2 separate regions of the Homo sapiens genome follow, and region 2 is linked to region 1. Evidence: promoter capture Hi-C in 16 types of primary human blood cells and fetal thymus (Javierre and others, 2016). All regions are on one chromosome and are shown on one strand. The core of a region is centred on a gene start or on the middle of the fragment in contact, and the rest is flanking DNA. Distances in the headings are between cores, read along the strand shown. Region 1 holds the start of SLC14A2 (solute carrier family 14 member 2). Region 2 has its middle 350 kb from the start of SYT4.

Region 1 (3,993 bases), core at 781-3,280:
CAGCTCCAAGTTAGTAAGTCTGATCTGGGCTGAGAGGAGACTGACTCACTGGGGCCAGCGGGTCAGGCTGGGTGGGGCAGGAGTCAGAGGCAGCACCACCTCCTCTGGGTCCTCTGAGGACTGGCTGGGGTTAGAGATGGCTGGTGGCCAGTGGGCCAGGGGCTTTATCTTTCTGGTTTCTGCTGCAGGGCCAGGGCTGGGGTTCTGCAGCTGAGAATCTAACCAGAGCCTGGCAGGGGAATTCTGGCCTCCAGCAGAAAAGCTCTGAGGAGCCTGCAGTGGCTGTGAGATGAGGTGGGGGAGAGAGCAGACCACTTGACCTCTTTTGATGCTCCTCCTTAGCTTGTGTTTGGAAGAATCTCATAGGAGATCGTCACACCCTTCTTATGTGACACTTTTTTCTTTGTTTTAGATGGAGTCTCCACTGTTGCCCAGGCTAGAGTGCAGTGGCGCAATCTCGGCTCCCTGCAACCTCCACCTCCCGGGTTCAAGCAATTCTCCTGCCTCAGCCTCCTTAGTAGCTGGGACTACCGGCGCACACCACCATGCCCAGCCAATTTTTTGTATTTTAGTAGAGACGGGGTTTCATCATGTTGCCCAGACTGGTCTCAGACTCCTGAGCTCAGGCAATCCGCCCACCTTGGTCTTTCAAAGTGCTAGGATTACAGGTGTGAGCCACTGCACCCGGTCCTTATGTGACACTTCTAAAGTGGGGTGACCCTTCAATGTTCCACATATTGAGCCCTCTCATCCCATGAATAAATGGCAATTTATTTATTGCCTCTTGCATTCCATCAGTTGCAATTATTCAGCCATCGAGTTCTCCTTCAGAGCCCTCAGTCTGGATCAGCCCATTATCTCCCTTTAAGCCAGGCCCTCCCCAACGCAGGTCACCTTCTAGCTGATTTCCCTCACTTCAGTCTCCCCAGTTTTTCTCCACCTTGCCACTGGTGATGGGTAAATTATCTTAAAACATGACTTGGTCGTGCCACTGCTCAAAAACCTTCTGAGGTGCTCCATGTCTGAGTGCTTCGCTCCTGAAACTGGGCATGAAACTCTGAGCCAGAGTAGTCAATGCCCAGGGCACTGAGAAGCACAGTTTTCTGGAATGCTGATTGAGCTTGATATGAACTAATATAGAATAATAGTTGTATATTTAAGCAAACATGGTTTATAAAATAGTCAAATGCAACTCTTTATATTATTAAAATAAAATATAAAGGGAAGAAATGTAGAGTCTGCAGGTGGCTGCTTCAGGCTGTGCCCACCTATTACGTAGGGGTAATGTGTCAATTCTCCCATCAGTTGAGGCTACTTAGGGGGAGAAGTTAAAAAGCTCTGAAGATAGCAACTGTTCTCAATCTCCCTCGGTTCTACCCAGGGGTGCTCCACTTGTGCCCAAGACAATTTTCAGCTTCTCTGCAGTGTGTGCCACTGTTCTGGGCAGGTGGCCTCCTGAGGTCCCACAGCTACCTCCAATTCAGTTCCACATGCACGAATATTGATCTCCTTTACTCACACACATCCTGCTCACACACCCACCCCTAACATGGCCATGGTGCCTTCCTGGCCTCTTAGGAGCATGGTGACCTCTGCTCTGGCTTGTGTGGTGGACTATTTCACAATGTAGTAGTCTCTCTCTCTCCCTCTCTCTCTCTCTCTCTCTCTCACACACACACACACACACATACACCCCTACACATACACACATGCACACATACTTATATACACAAGCTGCCCCGAGGTGGCTCTAGGTAGTTAATTTTAGTGTTATTAGACAGTGGTGGCACAGTGGAGACAGAATACCTGGATTCAAATCCTGGCTCCCCCACTGCAATAGTCCATTCTCATACTGCTATAAAGAACTACCTGAGAGTGGGTGATTTATTAGAAAAAAAAAAAAAAGAAATTTAATTGACTCACACTTCCACATTGCTGGGGAGGCCTCAGGAAACTTACAGTCATGGTGGAAGGCGAAGGGGAAGCAAACTTGGACCTTCTCAAATGGCGGCAGAAGAGAGAGATGGTGTGGAGCAGGAACTTGCCAAACACTTATAAAACCATCAGATCTTGTGAGAATTCACTCACTATCACGAGAACAGCATGGGGGAAACCGCTCCCATGATCCAGTCACCTTGCCCTGGGTCCTGCCCTCAACATATGGGGATTACTGGGATTACAATTTGAGATGATATTCAGGTGTGGACACAGAGCCAAACCATATCATTCTGCCCCTGGCCCCTCCCAGATATTATGTTCTTTATACATTTCAAAACAAAATTGTGCCTTAGCAACAGTCCCCCAAAGTCTTAACTTATTCCAGTATTAACTTGAAAGTCAAAGTCCAAAGTTTCATCTGAGGCAAGGCAAGTCCCTTCCACCTATGAGCCAGTAAAATCAAAAGCAAATGGCCGGGTGCGGCGGCCCACGCCTGTAATCCCAGCACTTTGAGAGGCCGAGTCGGGTGGATCACTTGACGTCAGAAGTTCGAGACCAGCCTGGCCAATGTGGTGAAACCCTGTCTCTACTAAAAATACAAAAATTAGCAGGGTGTGGTGGCACACACTTGTAGTCCTAGCTACTGGGAGGCTGAGACAGAAGAATCTCTTGAACCTGGGAGGTGGAGGTTGCAGTGAGCCAAGATAGTGCCAATGTACTCCAGCCTGGGTGACAGAGCAAACTGTGTCTCAAAAAAAAAAAAAAAAAAAAAAGCAAGTTAGTTACTTCCAAGATACAGTGGGGGTGCAGGAGGCATTGGATAAATGCTCCCATTTCAAATGGGAGAAATTGGCCAAAACAAAGGGCTACAGGCCCCACGCAAGTCCAAAATCCAGTGGTGCAGTCATTAAATCTTAAATCTCAAAAATAATCTCCTTTGACTCCATGTCTCATATCCAGGTCATGCTGATGCAAGAGGTGGGCTCCCACAGACTCAGGCAGCTCTGCTTCTGTGGCTTTGCAGGGTATAGCTCTCCTCCTGCTGCTTTCGCAGGCTGGTGTTGAGTGTCTGTGGCTCTTCCAGGTGCAGAGTGCAAGCTGACAGTGGATTTACCATTCTGGGGTCTGGAGTACGGTGGTCCTCTTCTCACAGCTCCACTAGGCAGTCCTCCAGTGGGGACTCTGTGTGGGGGCTCCAACTTCACATTTCCCTTCTGCACTGCCCTAGCAGAGGTTCTCTATGAGGTCTCTACCCCTGCAGCAAACTTTTGCCTGGACATCCTGGCGTTTCATACATCCTCTGAAATCTAAGTGGAGGTTCCCAAACCTCAATTCTTGACTTCTGTGCACCTGCAGGCTCAACACCACATGGAAGCCGCCATGGGTTGAGGCTTGCACCCTCTGAAGCAATGGCCTGAACTGTACACTGGCCCCTTTTAGCCATGGCTGGGATGCAGGGTACCAAGTCCCGAGGCTGCATAGGGCAGTAGTGGGGCCCTGGACCAGCCCATTGTTTTTCCTCCTAGGCCTCTGGGCCCAGGATGGTAGGGTTGCTGCAAAGTTCTCTGACATGCCCTGGAGTAATCTTCCCCATTGTCTTGGCGATTAACATTTGGCTTCTGGTTAGACAAATTTCTGCAGCCAGCTTGAATTTCTCCCCAGAAAATGAGTTTTTCTTTCCATCACATCGTCAGGCTGCAAATTTTCCCAACTTTTATGCTCTACTTCTCTTTTAAACATAAGTTCCAATTTCAAACAATCTCTCTGTAAATGCATAAAATTGAATCCTTTTAAGAGCACCGAGGTCACCTCTTGAATGCTTTGCTGCTTAGAAATTTCTTCTGCCAGATATCCTAAATCGTCTCTCTCAAGTTCAAAGTTCCACAGATCTCTAGGGAGGTGGCAAAATGCCACCAGTCTCTTTGCTAAAGCATAGCAAGAGTGACCTTTACTCCAGTTCCCAACAAGTTCCTCATCTCCATTTGAGACCACCTCTGCCTGGACTTCACTGTTCATATCACTATCAGCATTTTGGTCAAAATCATTCAGCAAGTC
Region 2 (3,716 bases), core at 561-3,060, 2.0 Mb after region 1:
GGAGGAGAGAAAAGAAATAGATGAAAGGAAACAGTAAAATCTGGGTTATTAGTTGAAGCCCCAGACCCTTATGTGAGGACTGATGCTACTCTAAATGCATACAGTATGTAGATAGCTTTCTGTCTTCTTTATGTTTACTAAATTTTTGAAAAGTAATTGTTTTTTAATCATTTCTCTATCTTTATATAAACTTTTTCAAATTGTCATGTATTTTCTTATTGTATTATTTTATTTACAAATAAAATTATACAATACAAAGAACATAATATATTAAATATTTTATAATATACTTTATTTACAAATAATACAATACAAAGAATATAATATTAAATATTAAAATATATTTTATTTACAAATAAAACCATACAACATACAAAGAACCACATATTGCTTTATTTATTTATTTATAGACAGTGTCTCAGTCTGTTGCCCAGGCTGGAGTGCAATGGCCCAATATTGGCTCACTGTAACCTCAGCCTCTTGGGCTCAAGTAATCCTTCCACCTTAGCCTCCTGAGTAGCTGGGACTATAGGTGTGCCACCATGCCCAGCCAATTTTTATATTTTTTGTTGAAGTGAGGTTTCATTATGTGGTCCAGGCTGGTCTTGAACTCCTGGGCTGAAGCTAGTCACCCACCTCAGTCCCCCAAAATGCTGGGATTATAGGTGTGAGCCACTGTGCTTGGCCTGCATTATTTATTAAGTTCATAGTTTTCCATTTGTATATGTATATTTATTTTTAAATCTTATATCTTTATTTGCTTTCTTTTATTTTTATGGGTGGTTTTTGGTACTTTTATTATGTCTCAGTGCAGCATCTCTTCCAGTTCAAGCTGAGGGTGGAAAGTTGGCTCTCACTTCCACAATCTTATATTATTTCTATCACGTAATTTCATTTTAGGAACACTTGGTATCATCCTTTGGTTTGGGCTTCCAAGAATGATTTCCCCATAATTTTAATGAAAATTTACCTTTGTCCAAAGGGGAGGAGAATATATTGTTTTTGAAATGGTAAATGACTCAAGTGAGGCTTTGAAACATTCTTCCACAAGCTTGTTTGAACTATAGCTTGTGAGACAAACCTATTGCTTCTCATGTGAAAAATCTAAAAGGTGAGGAATATTCTGGCCATTTTGCAGTCTCCTGAAGAAGAAACTAACCAAGGGAAAAAAGCGAGAGAGAGCAAAATAGAGCAAGGGAGCGAGGGCATCAACCATGTGCTTTCTGTCCTATTGGTCCACAATAGCCCTGATTACTTAATTTATTCTGTCATGTCTATTAGCTTTTTTAAAATTTACTGAATTTTTTTAAAAAAACTTTCCTTGGTTAAGCTTCTTTGAGTTTTTGTCACTTGCTCTCAAAAGAATTCTAAGACATCACTCAAATATGATTGAGATATTTATTGCAATTCTGTCATCTTCCTAATGTCATTCTCTTATCTTTTCCTGTCATGTGATAACTAGAATGTCACTAATTTGAAAGGAATGTTTCCTAGATTTTCTATTTTTATAATAATAATAATAGTAATAAATAATAAAAGAACATTGGAAGCAATGAATTTCCCTCCGGGTACAAGTTTGGTTTACTTCACAGGTCCTGTCTTTATTTTTAATATTCCCTATCTAGAATGTATGAGTGCTTATTCTTGTTTTATTTAGATATTAAAGTTTTAATTCAACATAGACAGCATGACTTATAATTTTGTAAATGCTTATTATATTTTCCATGAATCAAAAATTATTAGTAGGCTGATGATCATAGGGTGATAGAGCTGTAGGGTGATGATTTTAGTATATATCCATTAAATATGTTGTGAACTTGCTACTATTGCCTTCTATTGATGAGGACAGTTTTTTGAGAAACTTTGATGCGATAGAATGTTAAGTGCTTATCATTACTTTCTTTAGAATATTTTCCTTTTATATTATATATAGTTATAGTATTTAGTTGTTTGGATGACAAAAATTTATTTTCTTTTCAAATTTCAATGAAGATACCTTATTTTATAATCAGAAAATGAAATATTACAAAGATAATCTATCTTTATTATCTTTATATGCTATTCATATAAATAGGCTGAATAACATCTTACTCGTTGTGTCCTACAATTTGCTTTGTCTGCCTGACATTTATTAGCTGTGTAGGTACAAGTGATTTAACCTCACTGGATCTCAATTTCCTCATCTGTAAGGCATGAATATTAATATGAACTTCATATGATCTGTTTAGGAGTACAAAATGAGGATGTTTCAGTCTGAAGATAAGGTCAATTCAAGAAATAGGAAAGCTTGAAATTTACAGGAATGTTTAATTTTCTGTCATTTTTCTATAGTTCTAAACACAATGCTTTCTCAACCACAAATGCCCAAAGATCAAGAGCGAGCAGAGCACATTATTTCATTGCTCCTGACACAGCTGGATAGGAAACATATCTAAAGTTAAGACCAATAAAATTTACATTCCTCGAACCCTTCATTCTCTAAAATTTGTTCCACCTTCCTGACTTTCAGAGTCACAACATCCTTGTCTGTTTGATGGGCTTAATAGCTCTCCGGGTAGGTTTCATGTGAAAGATTTAATCTTTGACAGACTCAAAGTGGGTGCTCAGTGAATTGTGGAAGTGGTTATGTCTTGCGGGCCAAGTGCATGTAGGGCATGAGGCTGTTGAATGTCTTGGGCAGAATATTGAGCATAACTCAGAAGCCTCTTTCTCTTTCTAGGTCTGTTCCAAACAGAGGTGTATGATCTTGGGGGATATTACTTAATACTTCCAATACTTTGTATCTTCCTCTAATACATTTTTATCAGAATTCTTTCCTGACCACCTCATCTGGTTTTATGAAGACCAAAGGGTACAATGGATGTGACTGAGCTTTGTACTTGCCTACTTTATACTCCATGGTATTGTACTTTGAACACTCCAAGTTTCTTAGCTTGGGAATTGAGACTTTTAATGGTCTGGTCTCCTCTTATTCTGACTAAATTTATTTTATATCCCACCTGAAATCTTTGCCCCAGTCATACTAAGTTACCTGAGATTCCCCTAAGTCACCATTTTTTGCAAAATGGGGTCCCCTGCAGGGAATATTCCCTCCTATGACCTCTCTCTCCCATCTCTCTGTTGGACTTACTGTTTTTGGAAACTTAGGCCCCAACCCTCATGTCATCTCATGCTGAAAAAATATTGAATTTTCCAAGGATGGACTGATATCATTTACCAAATTCTCTTGCCCTTAATTATCTTTGTATTTATTTGTATCTCTCAGAAGTATGTGAGTATGGTTTCCCAGAGTCTACCCTGGAATAAACTGCACAAACTTAAAATTGCATTAGCTTTGTTGAGTAGATAAAATAGCAAACCGTGTAGATACTCAAATATTATTTTAATGATTATAAATAATCATTTCAAATATAAATTTTGAGTAGGTGAGTGGGTAGAGTAAATAGTCTTCGTGGAGCAGGACAATGCAATAATAGATATTTTTTAAAAGTTTAAAAAATTTTTAATTACTGAAAACATATAAGGTGTCATCGGGTAAAAGAATCATATATGATAAGAATGATGTTTTGAGCTGGCAAACTTTTAAAGAAGCTCTTTATTTTCTAAAGCATTCCTTTGCAAAGGAGAAGGGTCAAAGATACCACGCCTCTGTTTCCTGACAATTGCTGGGGCTAGGAAAATCTTTCTTTTGACTCTACTGCCATCTGTTGTTCAAA

The links. Contacts are between HindIII fragments. The CHiCAGO score rates a contact against its expected background, and 5 or more counts as called.
Region 2: a fragment that was not itself captured here is called in contact with the fragment with the promoter of SLC14A2 in region 1 in 1 of 17 cell types (endothelial precursors); the score reaches 5.3 in endothelial precursors.

Annotation. Positions count from the first base shown.
Region 1 is chr18:45,613,513-45,617,505 of GRCh38, reverse strand. It overlaps SLC14A2 (solute carrier family 14 member 2), which reads right to left and starts at 2,030. Exons shown (of 20, transcript NM_007163.4): 1 at 1,924-2,030. The region is part of intron 8 of LOC105372093 (a long non-coding RNA gene); the gene reads left to right. The HindIII fragment of the contact is 14,354 bases long and covers 1-3,993 here.
Region 2 is chr18:43,621,120-43,624,835 of GRCh38, reverse strand. No RefSeq gene overlaps it. Among named protein-coding and RNA genes, the nearest start is that of SYT4, 350 kb to the right of the region's middle. The HindIII fragment of the contact is 956 bases long and covers 1,333-2,288 here.